2 separate regions of the Homo sapiens genome follow, and region 1 is linked to region 2. The links are contacts of gene promoters, found by promoter capture Hi-C in blood cells and fetal thymus (Javierre and others, 2016). All regions are on one chromosome and are shown on one strand. The core of a region is centred on a gene start or on the middle of the fragment in contact, and the rest is flanking DNA. Distances in the headings are between cores, read along the strand shown. Region 1 overlaps RPL14 (ribosomal protein L14). Region 2 holds the start of PSMD6-AS1 (PSMD6 antisense RNA 1).

Region 1 (6,820 bases), core at 376-2,875, about 24 Mb before region 2:
GAATGGCTCGGATGTGTGCAGTGGCTCATACCTGTAATCTCAGCACTCTGGGAGGCCAAGGCAGGTAGATAACTTGAGGTCAGGAATTTGAGACCAGCCTAGCCAACCCCGTCTCCACTAAAAGTCCAAAAATTAGCCCAGTGTGGTAGTGTACTCCTGTAGCCCCAGCTATTTGGGTGGATGGAACAGAAGAATTGCTAGAACCTAGGAAGCAGAGGTCACAGTGAGCCAACGTTGCGCCAGTGCATTCTCCATCCTGGGTTACAGAGCAAGACCCTGTCTCAAAAAAAGAAAAAAAAAAAGAATGGTTTTCAACACGTCCACTGCCCGAGTGGAATTATATATAGTCAGAGGTGGGTTTTTTGTGTTTTTTTTGAGGGTTTTTTTTTTCTTTTGACACGGAGTCTCACTTTGTCACCCAGGCTAGAGTGCAGTGACGCAATCTTGACTCACTGCAACCTCAGGCTCCCAAGTAGCTGGGATTATAGGCACCTGCAACCACGCCCAGCTAATTTTTGTGTTTTTAGTAGAGATGGGGTTTCACTATGTTGGCCAACCTGGTCTTGAACTCCTGACCTCAGGTGATCCACCCATCTTGACCTCCCAAAGTGCTGGGATTACAGGTGTGAGCCACTGCGCCTGGTCAAGAGGTAGTTTTTAAATTCATAAAATGGGCTGGGCTGGGTGCAGTGGCTCATACCTGTAATCCCAGCACTTCAGGAGGCCAAGGTGGAGGGTTGCTTGAGCCCAGGAGTTGGAGACCAGCCTGGGCAACGTAGCAAGACCCTGTCTCTACAAAAAATATAAAAATTAGCTGGGTGTGCTGGTATGCACCTGTAGTCCCAGCTACTTGGGAGGCTGAGGCAGGAGGATGGCTTGAGCCTAGAAGGTTGAGGCTACAGTGAGCCATGATCATACTATTGCATTCCAGCCTGGGTGGCAAGCAAGATCCTCTCTCAAAAAAAAAAAGGGACTGGATTACAGTTTTGATTAAAATATGCTTGAAGTTAATAACCTATTCTGGCTTACTGAACACAAAAATAAGTAAAATACATAGTGTACCAGGTGTTGTGTAACAGGAAGAGTGCTTTTCAAGGAACAAAGAAAGTGTCTTTGATAATGAGTGACTTCAAAGCTGATTTCTTAATCTGTGGTCTTGGCTCGTTCTAGTGCCCACCAGAAGTATGTCCGACAAGCCTGGCAGAAGGCAGACATCAATACAAAATGGGCAGCCACACGATGGGCCAAGAAGATTGAAGCCAGAGAAAGGGTAATAACTTAGGGTCATTTGAATTCTGGTCCTTTCTTTTTTTGGAGGGTTCAAGATAGTGTGAGAGGGATAATTTTTATTTGTTGTTTTTTTTTTAACAGAAAGCCAAGATGACAGATTTTGATCGTTTTAAAGTTATGAAGGCAAAGAAAATGGTAAGATTTAAGATCTGTATTTTTGTGTAACTTAGCTTTAAATAATAAGGGAGCAGTAGCCAAATCCCATTTCAGGCTGCCAGCTTCTTGGAAGCTTTCTGTAAAAAAGGAGAATTTATCTTCATTTGTATTTCATGATGTCCCTATGGAATTGTTACCTTTCTTCAGATGTAGTTGTAGGGAAACAGACTACTTAATGCCCTTTCTAAAACCAGCATAAATTGGATTTTATTGTATGTATACACAATAAGTGCTTTCTTACATTGATAATTTTCAGAGGAACAGAATAATCAAGAATGAAGTTAAGAAGCTTCAAAAGGCAGCTCTCCTGAAAGCTTCTCCCAAAAAAGCACCTGGTACTAAGGGTACTGCTGCTGCTGCTGCTGCTGCTGCTGCTGCTAAAGTTCCAGCAAAAAAGATCACCGCCGCGAGTAAAAAGGCTCCAGCCCAGAAGGTTCCTGCCCAGAAAGCCACAGGCCAGAAAGCAGCGCCTGCTCCAAAAGCTCAGAAGGGTCAAAAAGCTCCAGCCCAGAAAGCACCTGCTCCAAAGGCATCTGGCAAGAAAGCATAAGTGGCAATCATAAAAAGTAATAAAGGTTCTTTTTGACCTGTTGACAAATGTATTTAAGCCTTTGGATTTAAAGCCTGTTGAGGCTGGAGTTAGGAGGCAGATTGATAGTAGGATTATAATAAACATTAAATAATCAGTTCCTTTTTTTTTTTTTTTTTTTTTGAGATGGAGTCTCGTTCTGTTGCTCAGGCCGGACTGCAGTGGCGCTATCTCGGCTCACTGTAAGTTCCACCTCCCGGGTTCATGCCATTCTCCTGCCTCAGCCTCCTGAGCAGCTGGGACTACAGGTGCCCGCCACCGCGCCTGGCTAATTTTTTGTATTTTTAGTAGAGACGGGGTTTCACCGTGTTAGCCAGGATGGTCTCGCTCTCCTGACCTCGTGATCCGCCCGCCTCGGCCTCCCAAAGTGCTAGGATTGCAGGCATGAGCCGCCGCGCCTGGCCTAAATAATCAGTTCTTTAATCTCACTCTCTGCCCATACTTGGATAGGTAGTGCAAAATCATTGCAGTCATAATTGATCATGTCATGAGAAATCATGATAACTTAGAACACCAAGTGACACAAGTGACATTTTTTTCTTATGGTCACCTTGGCTTCAGAACATCTTTTTTCCTTGTACAAATATGTTTGCCATAAATAGGTAAAGTGACAGCCTCTTGATGCTCAAGAGTCTAGCAGATTTATTTTATTTATTTATTTTTTTTTTTTGGAGACAGAGTCTTGCTGTGTTGCCCAGGCTGGAGTGCAGTGGTGCGATCTCAGCTCCCTCCACCTTCCGGGTTCAAGTGATTCTCCTGCCTTGGCTTCCCAGGTAGCTGGGACTACAGGCGCCCACCACCATGCCCAGCTAATTTTTTTTGTAGAGACTGGGTTTCACTATGTTGGCCAGGCTGGTTTTGAACTCCTGACCTCGTGATCCGCCTGTCTCGGCCTCCCAGAGCGGGGGATTATAGGCATGGGCCACTGCACTTGGCCTTTTTTTGTTTTTTTGAGACAGAGTCTTGATCTTATCACCCAGGCTGGAGTGCAGTGGCACGATCTTGGCTCAGCGCAACCTCTGCCTCCTGGGCTCAAGCGGTTCTCCTGCTCAGCCTTCTGAGTAGTTGGGACTATAGGTGTGTGCCACCACGTCTGGCTAGTTTTTGTATTTTTAGTGGAGATGGGGTTTCACCATGTTGGCCATGCTGGTCTCGAGCTCCTGACCTCAGGTGATACACCCGCCTTGGCCTCCCAAAGTGCTGGAATTACAGGTGTGAGCCACTGTGCCCGGCCTGCAAATTTTCTTATAAAAAGTAAACTAGGAAAATAGGGCAAGTATAAAAATTGCAGGTTGAGCATATTTCTAATCCAAAAAGCTCTAACCTCTGAAACTGAGCTATGACACTACAATTTAAAAATCCCTAGCCTACCCGCATGGTGGGTTATGGTCAAAATACAGGTACACAGCACTATTCAGTGTCCCTGAGGAAGAAATAGTTAACCTTCAGGGTACATGTATATGAAGCATAAATGAATTTCCTGTATAGACCTAGGTCCCATCCCCAAAGTGTCATGTATATGCACTTAACTCCAACATCAGAACACATCTCGTCCTAAGTGTTTCAGATAAGAGATACTTATCCTGTGTATAGTAGGTTGGACTTCTGTTTCTCTCTACCACAAGATACAGGTAATTTGGGGCAGTAAAAGATCCTGGATAGATTTAAAAATACTACAAAGCTGTACATGAAACAGGATTACTTTTTTTTTTTTTTTTGAGACAGAGCCTTACTCTTGCCCAGGCTGGAATGTAGTGGCACGATCTCAGCTCACTGCGACCTCCACCTCCCAGGTTCAAGTTGTTCTGCCTCAGCCTCCCAAGTAGCAGGGGTTAAATGCGTGTACCACCATGCCCCTCTAATATTGTATTAGAGATGGGGTTTTGCCATGTCAGCCAGACTGGTCTTGAACTCCTGACCTCAGGTGATCTGTCCGCCTTGGCCTCCCAAAGTGCTGGGATTACAGGCGTGAGCCACCGCTTCTGGCCAGGAATACATTTTAAATAAATTTGTTTCCTAACCAAAAGCTAGCTTCAGGCGTCACTGGGGTAAAGGAAAAAGCACATTGATTTGCTTGATAATAGGCAAGTGGTATGGTGTAATAAGGAAAATATGGATGATTTCGGATTACCTGTTCTACTCTGGGAGGTAGAGAATTGTCTAGAGAAAGTGGCATCTATACCTAAAATAAGAAGAAGGTGGTGTAAGGGGAAGAATGACACGAGATAGGAAATAAACGAACTGATAGTGTAGAGGACTGGCTCGGGACCACATCAAGGAAGTAGGTTAGTGGTTAGATCGTGTAGGGGAACACGGGAAGCTACTGAGGGTTTTTTAAAATGGCGTGATATCTCAGATTTAGATCATTGAACTGTTAAGACTGAATCTTATGGGATCAAGACTGGGAATGCTCGGGTTGGCAGTATGAAGTTTGGCAGTAATCCAAGGAAGTGACAGTGGTAATGCCATTTAGGTGGTCTTGATCATGCATTGGACTGCAGAAATAAGGGAGAAAACAATGTGTCAGGGTTTCTGGTTTGTACCTCTGGTTCATTGGTTGTGAGGGAACATGAGGCAGGGTAAAGTTTATCTAGGTAAAATGAGTTAGTTTTCATGTAGACTATCTGGGTGTATATGCAAAGACTGCAGACAATCTATACTAAAATCCTGGCTCTGCCTCTTGAAAGCTATGTAGTTTAGGCACATAGTCAAAATCCAGTTTCCTCATCTATGTGGTACGCTTCAGAGTAGTTAATCATGATATGTAGTCCAGTGACTGGTTCCCTTGGTAAGAGCTGTGATAATGACACAAGGAGGAGAGGTTTCAGGACAGACTTGGGATTCATGAATATGTAAGTGGTCACTGATTCCCCAGGGGTAGGATGACAACAATCAAGAGACGAATAGAGGTTGGAAAGGAGTCATGAGGGGTGGGAAACTAGCAGGGGCACATGGAAGCTAGGGAAAGAATTTTGCTTGAGATCGTCAAAGTGAGGGGAAGAGGGTAGTAAGCAAAGGAGAAATGTTATATGGGGTTCGGAGGTTTTGTGTTTGTAAATCTGGAGTGATGGGCATGTTCAAATGCTTCTGGGAAAGGAGCTAATAGGAGAGAAACTTAGCCCTTCGAAAAACAGGAAGGGATGGATCCTAGGGGAGAGGAGGAAGGATTGGCTTTAGAGGAAAGATGTCCTTTACGTGAGGAAAAGGAAGAAAAGGTGGGTTTAGATACTAAATCTGTAGGTTTGCTGTTAGGAAATTAAGGACTTTTCACCTTTATCTCTGAAATTTCTCTGGAGTTAGCAAGGCAAGGTCATACACTGAGAAGGAGGGATGAGGCAGTGTAGATTTGCAGACATACAGGTTGTAATTCCTTATGGAGGAAAGGGGAGAGCACTTTTGTCAGACTGCCTGTGGCTTTGAGAGCCCTTTGGCTACAGTCCATGAGGTGCTCAGAGGATGAGAAAGCTTCAGGGTAGAAGCAGTATTCAAGCTGCACCTAGAAAACAGTGCAATACAGAACAGTGGAAATTGGAAATTCCAATCTTGGAATCTCTAGGAAAGTAACTGAGGCATACGATGCCTGAAAAGGAGTAGAAAATAAAATTAATAAGGTGGGACCATATGATAAGAGATTTGAGGCCGGGCACTGTGGCTCACACCTGTAATCCCAGCACTATGGGAGGCTGAGGCAGGCGGATCACCTGAGGTCAGGGGTCCGAGACCAGCTTGGCCAACATGGTGAAACCCCGTCTTTACTAAAAATACAAAAATTAGACAGGCATGGTGGAGCATGCCTGTAATCCCAGCTACTTGGGAGGCTGAGGCGGGAGAATCGCTTGAACCCAGGAGGTGGAGGTTGCAGTGAGCTGACATTACGCCATAGCACTCCAGCTTGGGCGACAGAGGGAGACTCTGTCTCAAAAAAAAGACTTGAGCAAGGGCGTAATCTTCAGGAAGGTCAGTCTGGTAGCATAGTGTGGATTGGGTTGGGGGATGGGGAAGGAGAGCAGAAAATTATTGAAATATCCAGGTGCATAAAAGTCTACTTTGATTATGGAGAACTACACACTTGTTCAGTCACCCTCATTGGAGACGGGGGATGGCATACGAAAAGAATGCTGATTTCAGGCTGGGCACGGTGGCTCATGCCTTTAATCCCAGCACTTTGGGAGGCTGAGGCAGGTGAATCAGGGGTTCAAGACCAGCCTGGCCAATGTGGTGAAACCCTGTCTCTACTAAAAATCAAAAAAAAAAAAAAAAAAATGGCTGATTTCAGAGTCATATTCAGGTTTAAATTCTGTCATTCAGCCCAAACTCATTACTTTATGTTACTTATGGGAACCTCATCTAAAAAGCAAGGATCCTGATACCTGCCTCATATTGTGGCAAGGATCAAATGAGTCAAATAAGATGCTTGTGAAAGTGAGGACAGGATCTATCCTCAACACCTAGTGCAATTCTTTTTACACATTAGGTACTTAGTAATTTGGGTTGAATTGTGTTGAACTAACCTGGCGGTATAGGCAAAATTTGGAAGTTTGGTTTTCAGAAAGTCTTGACTTCCTCTTATCTCTAAGTAATTGGCATGTCCTCTAATTCATATTTTCCCCCCTCATCTGTTGGGTGAAATACTGTTTATCCTTTAGTACTAAAATTAAAAGTTACCTCATTCTTCTAGCTAGCTGATTTTTTTTTTTAATCTAGGCTAAATCATGAATACATTTACATTTAAATAAAATATTACAGTTGAAAGTAAAGGGTCCTTTCATTATCTCCACTTCCAAT
Region 2 (7,113 bases), core at 4,180-6,679:
ACAGCACTTTTAGGAATAGGACAGGGAATGGAGGAATTGGAATTCCAGTATTACTTTCAAAAGCAGAACTGGCCAGAGGAATTGGAATTCCAGTATTATTTTCAAAAGCAGAACTGGCCAGAGGTGCTTGTGATTCCTGGGTGGAAACCATGGCAGTGGACAGAAGCAGCATGGAGGAAAAGAGCACTGGAATTCAGGCTGAGGAACTGTGAAGCCAAGGGTGTTGTATAGGTTGTCCATTTCAAATTAGGGTTGCTTGGTTCTGGGATGATTTGCATGGAAGAGGGGAGAGTGACTTGGAGATGTGTGATTGAGGACAGTGAGCACAGTGAGTTGATGGTGTTGCTGGGTTATAAGCAGCTTCAAAGAGAAGGCATTTTGAATGAAGGTGGAAACATAATGGCCAGGAGAACAAGCAAAGGACTAGGAAACAGTGAACTTCATCTTGGCCTCAAGTTCCTGAGGTGCATATGAATAAACAGTCTCTAACCCAGAGGGTTTCAAGAAAAGCAGAGTCCTCAAAATCCAAAGGTAGAGTTTCCCCACATTGATATTATACTAATTACACGTATAACAGTACTTTGGAAAAGCACAGGTCTCTGGTCACCTCTAAAAGGCAAGGTTGGTAAGGAGGTCAGGGTGTCACCTGTTGGTAGTCTTAACTAAATGGTCTCTTCAAGGGATCTAAGGATGGAAAGGGGATATATAATGGTTGGATTAAAGGCTCATCATTGATTAGCAAATTGTCCCTTTTGTTTCTTAAACCCAATTTGTACAGGGAAAGTTATGCCACTGTAAGATATTTTTAAATGGGGAAAAAAAAAAAAAAAAAAAAAAGGTTATACCCTTTGACCATGTATGTCAAGGTTAAAATGGCCTGGATCAGATTGCTACAAATTCCTGATAGCCTTTGTATTCCTTCAGAAACACAAGCATAATGCAAATCTGTGGCTCTACAGCTTTGAAACCAAAACTAGTGATTATCAGAGCTTTTCATGTTATCCAGATGGGGATTTTACCCCACTCCCCCATTGCCATTGTGGAGGCACAGGTTTGTTACCAGCAACTACAAGTTTATGTAGCATTGGGAAGGTCAGGGATTATCATAGTTCCCTCCACGCTTTTTCCCCCATAATCATGGGGGCAGATATTTCAGCTGTCAGCTGTTCATCTTAAAAACATTAGGTTAACAGCAGCACCAAGGACTAATTCAGAATATGAAATTACAGAAATGATTTGCTAATGATTTAGTAGCCTTTTATCAGTTAATGTTTGGTCAGGTTATAAAAGACCAAATGTGTTCAGTCACAAAATCCTAAGTGTATTGAGTATTGCATGCTTAGTGATCAAGTTGTAGGCATCCTTCTAGCCATCTGGGGCAGGTAAAAGTTGGGTGCTTAACAAAAGTGGTTTTTACACTGTTTCTGTCCTAAGAGACACTGTTTTTTAATAGCTTAAAAATTGACCTAAAGCTGTTATTTCTAATACAGGAAATAGATTACCATAATTTGACATAGCTTTAAAATATTTAGCTCTTACTCGATAGATTTGCTATAAAATCAACTTTTACTGAGGTAAGAGAAACTGGCATTTCTGCTTTAAAAATAATCACAAAAGATAGTTTATCCTGGCGATATCATTTCACACTAGGATAGTTACTTTTGACTGAAACCAGGGTTAAAAATAAGATTGTTTCCCACTTCAAAAGAAAACATTTACCAACATGAAAAAGGAACTATGTATAACTGTTTTAGCATCATTTCATAATCTTATTTTCATATTGTGAAGTAACCTTCTTGAATAAAAGCAGAAAATTAAGACTTTCAGAAAACAAGCTGTACCAGTTAAAGCTACTAGAGACAGGATAAAGGTTAGGAATTCTTTGGATAGTTTCTCCTAGCTCAAGCTTGTCCAACCCAGAGCCCACAACAGCTTTGAATGTGGCCCAACACACATTTGTAAGTTTTCTTAAAACATTATGAGCTGTTTTGTTTTGAGCTCATCAGCTATCCTTAGCGTATTTTGTGTCACCCAAGACAATTCTTCCAGTGTGGCCCAGGGAAGCCAAAAGATGGGACACCCCTGTCTTAGTTGATTAACACAGGAGGCTGTTAACCATCAACCTCACATGCACAATATTGGGGGTAGTGCAGGGATAACAAGCTCAAATGCCAGCAGGGGCCAGGCAGACAGGCAGTGTATATGAACAGACTGGGTGGACTGGGGCACACTGGAAAACACGCTATGCTTGTCGCTCAGCTTATTGGAGCGTGAGTCCAGATTTAGCTTCACCTGTCCTTTTTCCAGAGAAGCTAGATATGTGGTTTTTAAACTGTCAACTTTTACGTGGTAACTATAAATTTTTTTCTTGGAAAAGTATTTAGGGTGTGTCAATTGCCGCCTGTGGGTGAACAACTGCAACTCTGTAGCATTCAGAAGCCACCTTTGCATTCCTGACTAGCTTTGGTTTTCTGTAGAAAACCAAAAAGCTGAGGTTTTTTTCCTTTAAGAAATGTTTTCTAGATAAGCATTTTTAGAAATTCATAGGTGGATATTCTCAAATACATTAGGCATAGTCAGCATTTTAAAAGCCTCCCCTCCACAATACAGTGCCTACAGGAAACTCCTTTCAAAACAGAGATCTAGCCACATTGCTTTCCTTGGCATACAACCAATGGCTCTTCTTCCAGCGATGAGAGCTGCTGTCTTCACTTTTAAGATAATGCTTCTAATATTTTGCCATTAATTACCTTGTGATAGGGCTTTGATATCCCAACCTATTATTCATAGTCTACTGAAGAGTTTTTTTATCATGAAGAAATGTTGAATTATATCAAATTATTTTCAATCAAATGAGATCATGTTAACAGGAGTATGTTATTCCTGTTAGGAATTCCATATTAGGAATATGTTATTCCTAATATGTTAACAGGAATCATTCCCATCAGTAAATGTTATTTAAAGCAAAAAAACTCAAAACTCTTCTTTCCTTCCCTTGCCTTTTACAGTAAAATGCCATTTCCCATTCTCTTCTGAACTCACCTCTACCAAAACTGCTCATTAAGGTCACTAGCTGTCTTTCACTTAAGCCAAAAAGCCTAGGATCTCCTCTGACAAATTTTCTCCCCCTCATCCTCCTCACCCCATTCTTCAATCTTTTAGCAAATCCAGCTGCCTGTACAATCCATGCCACCGAATGCCGTAAGTGAGACGTAAAAGGTAAGCCAAATCCGCACTTAAAATTGCCAGTGACTTTCCTCGTCTTTCTTCCCTCCATACGTTCATGGGCTCTCCCTCCTTTTCACTTAAATGTCACCTTACCATAGAAGCCTTCCACAACACCTCAGAAGACGGCCTATACCCTGTATCTCTATCTATCTATCTATCTATCTGTCTGTCTATCTGGTTTTATACTTCTTATAGCACTTATTCCTATCTGACACACTGAATAAAACTGATAAAACTAATAAACTGTTTCAAACAAACAGAGGAACAACTTTGTTTTCCTCACTGCTATTATTACTATGGTCCTACTTTTGGAAAAAAGATTCAGTTTGCTAATAAATACTTACATATAAGGTTTTAGAAAACTGAGATCAGCCTTGGTAGATTCTGTAATCCAGGTTATGTCAGCTTCCTAAAAAAGAGTAACTTCCTGCCTTATATGGTTACTTGTTTCTGAGGGAAAGCTTATTACACATTTTCTTTATCTTCTATCTTTTGTATACTAAAAGTGGGAGACACTGTTTGTTTAATTTTAGGCCACTACTCTTCTTTCTAAAATCGGGAAGCTTACAGGTAAGAGATTTAAAGGTAAGCGATAATGGGCTGTGTCAACATCCGTATTTTACTGACGTATTTTACTGATGAGGCAGTCAGGAGCTGAACCTAGCTGAACCCAGCTGCAACCTTACCCTATAAACCAGATTTTCATTAATGAATAATTCAAGTGACATTATTTTAACATAAGTGGACCCGATTCTAGAAGGCCTATGTGTTTAAGAAAAAAATAAATGGAAAGAAACAACAATGCAGTATTTATTTTATACAGCTGACCTGGGCACATTGTGAAGTAAGCTATAAAAATTCCAAATAATTATCTCTAAAGCAAATCCTTTGTTAGTTACATGGCTTTACATATTAATTACTCTGGAAAGTTTTTGAACTCTGTTTAGTAGCAGATCTCCTTTCTTGATAGTTTCTTGGTACTGCCAGTTCTTGCTATCAGGTCTATAAATAAATTCAAGAAAAAATGAATTATTTACCAGTCACATTATTCCATGACAATAGTTGACCTACTTTTAAAATTTAGGAATGCCCCTTATTCTGAGAAATGAGAGTACCTGTTGGTTTCTACTATTTCATTCACTTTATCTATTTTGCAGTGTAGTCTCCCGGCAGCAATAAACCTGGACAGTTCCCTAATTTAGAGACAAAAAATAACAGAATTAGCTTTATAGAAAATTCTTAGAAAAATGCAAACGGCATTAAAATACTGTCTTAAATTTGTAACAAACATTTAGCTTCCCTTCAAGCTTGTTATTGCACATGCAGTAGTTGACGTTGTCCCTCCTATACTGCAGGCTTTAAGTCATCATCTACTAGAATAAACATGATCCTAGAAGTTCATATTCAGATAGATAGAAAGTAGATCAAACAATGAAACCATATGTACTCAGAGAAAAACTGTAGGTTAGGAAAAATTAGGGACCAAAACTGATAAAAACAGTAAACTGTTTCAAACAAAAGACCTAAAACAAAATTATGGAACACAGCCCATCAGTAAACATGTCAACAGCAATAGTATTAACATGTCAACAGCAATAGTATTTACTAAAACAACGACCCTTTCCCTCTCTAACATATCTTAGTCTAAACAAGTGGAAGGGAAGGGGAGAAATGATGTAGAATTATTGCTTTGCCCATTTTAAAAAAGGGGATTTCATCTAAAATGTAACTTTTTAAGGGAGAAAAAAAGAATAAAGAATCCATGACAACCCAGATTTGAAATTCTTAGGTATCACAGAAATTTAAAACAAGGCCTTTTTAGGTAACAACAACTAGAGCTCAGTGGTACAACCTTTGCCTCTCAAGCTGGTCTTAGAACATGAAGGGAAAAAAAAAAAACTGAACAAATACTACCTGAATTCAACTACTACCTGAAAGGTACCAGCTGCCTTGCATTCACTTGTCATCAAGATGACTTAAGGAATACTGCGGTGTGTGCCCCTAACTAATGAAGGCTTTATCTCCACATTACAGTTACGATACTGAAGAGACGTAACCTGACCAAGGCCACAGAGCTGGAAAAAGAAGCAAAGCCAAGCCGTTTTTCTCATGCACTGCTCACAACAAGCCCCTCCTTCCACTGACTCATGAAAAACACACTCATAATGCCCAGCCCGCACCCTAATGAACAGCCCTCTTAAGAGTGGTCATCAGACTTCAATTTCACAGACTAGAATTGAGAAATGGAACAAAACCTTGGGATACCAGCCTTCCATTTTGGTAGGGATCATTTAAAAAATGGTAGGGATCATTTAAAAAATGTGTTGGTGTCTGAAACTTACTTTGAAGTGGTTAAAAAACATAAAATGTATAGATTGTAACAAGCAAATATGTTAAAATGTACTGTACAATTCTTTCTTTACAATTTTATGGATGTTCGAAATTTAAAAAATACTAGAAAGAGAATGGTCTTATTTAAAAGAAATGCATCTTCATTTAAAGTTTCCACTGCAGACCATTGAAAACACCATCATCAACATTTAAAAACACCTACATGTGGGAGCCACTGATCTAGATGCCATCTGGACATCCCATATTGAGTATGTCTCCTACCCAACTCTACTCTCACCACCCTCGTCCACGCCACGGTAACATCTCCTCTAAGAGCTACTAAACAGCACAACTGGTCCTCTCTGCCACCTTACTCTATTTCTTATATAAAGACACTGCATAGGACCATGTAACTTGGGCTCTAAATCTTCCAATGGCTCCCTATCAAACTTACTTAAAACTCAAGCTCCATCCCATGACCTACAAGGCCCTACACAAATCATTACCTACCTAACTCTCCATATATTATCCTCAAAATCTCCTACCACTCCAACTATGCTGGAGCCACCCTGACATTTTCTGTTCCTACAACATCCAAGCTTATTCCTGGCTCAAAGCCTTAGCCTTTTCTATTCCCTTTTCTGCACGCAGAAGGACTCCATATGGCTGACTCCTCTCAATTCAAATCTCAGAGCAAACCTCACCTCCTTAAGCATGCCGTACGTAAGGATAGCATTTTCTCATCTCCATAGGTTCATTTCTATATGTGAAATTACGTTTTATATTTATTTGCTTCCTTGCCATCTCTTCCCTACTACTACAATGAAAGTGTGAAAAGGGAGCTGTAAAACAATACCAAACATATAGTAATGAATGGCTCATTAAGTATTTATTTGTTTAATCACTGATGCAAGTACTAAAAGTCCCACATTTAACAACCAATCTGACCAGAATTGCAGCAGCAACCTAAAAACTGGAAGGAATTATCAGAGGGAATATGACCAACTGTAAATATCAGATCTAAGAGTCATTACCGTAGCTGCAGTGTGGTCTACAAAGAAGTAACAGAAGACAACTTTTGATAACAACTGGTCTAATGACCTTTAACAAATCACTTAGCCTCACTACAACTCATCTTCCCATCTGTTAATGCAAGGGGCAGACATGACATGAGGAAGGCAGAGGCAACAGGATACGAATGTTTTGATAATACTGAGGAAAAAAACCTCTCCCCTCCCCGTTAAGATTGAGGGAACCAATGTAAACAAGTAAAAAATTGTACAAGTTCACATATTTTAAAAGGCAACTTTAAAACTTCAATTAACATGGCATTATTCAAACTTACTGATCAATGAATTCCACACCAACACCAAACGCTTCTGCCATATAGCCAAGGGTTAATGACCTATATGATTCCAGCAGCTGACTGTATGCATGAATTCTCATTTCTCTTACATAGTATCGATAATGAGGGGCAAAAAGCCAGTCCTTTTTCATTTCCTGTTCCACAACCGCTGCAATGAATAAAATGACAAATTATAATAGACTCTCCGT

The links. Contacts are between HindIII fragments. The CHiCAGO score rates a contact against its expected background, and 5 or more counts as called.
Region 1: a contact is called between a fragment that was not itself captured here and the fragment with the promoter of PSMD6-AS1 in region 2, in 1 of 17 cell types (total CD4 T cells). The highest score is 6.9, in total CD4 T cells.

The regions. Positions count from the first base shown.
Region 1 is chr3:40,460,237-40,467,056 of GRCh38, forward strand. It overlaps RPL14 (ribosomal protein L14), which reads left to right. Exons shown (of 6, transcript NM_001034996.3): 4 at 1,171-1,270; 5 at 1,372-1,425; 6 at 1,703-6,820. The coding sequence ends at 1,996. Among named protein-coding and RNA genes, the nearest start is that of RPL14, 6.3 kb to the left of the region's middle. The HindIII fragment of the contact is 216 bases long and covers 1,518-1,733 here.
Region 2 is chr3:64,006,535-64,013,647 of GRCh38, forward strand. PSMD6-AS1 (PSMD6 antisense RNA 1) reads left to right here and starts at 5,430. Exons shown (of 2, transcript NR_189168.1): 1 at 5,430-5,508. It overlaps PSMD6 (proteasome 26S subunit, non-ATPase 6), which reads right to left. Exons shown (of 8, transcript NM_014814.3): 6 at 6,905-7,073; 7 at 4,344-4,421; 8 at 4,017-4,230. The coding sequence ends at 4,134. It overlaps PSMD6-AS2 (PSMD6 antisense RNA 2), which reads left to right. Exons shown (of 3, transcript NR_038286.1): 2 at 3,163-3,219; 3 at 5,263-5,709. The HindIII fragment of the contact is 1,623 bases long and covers 4,534-6,156 here.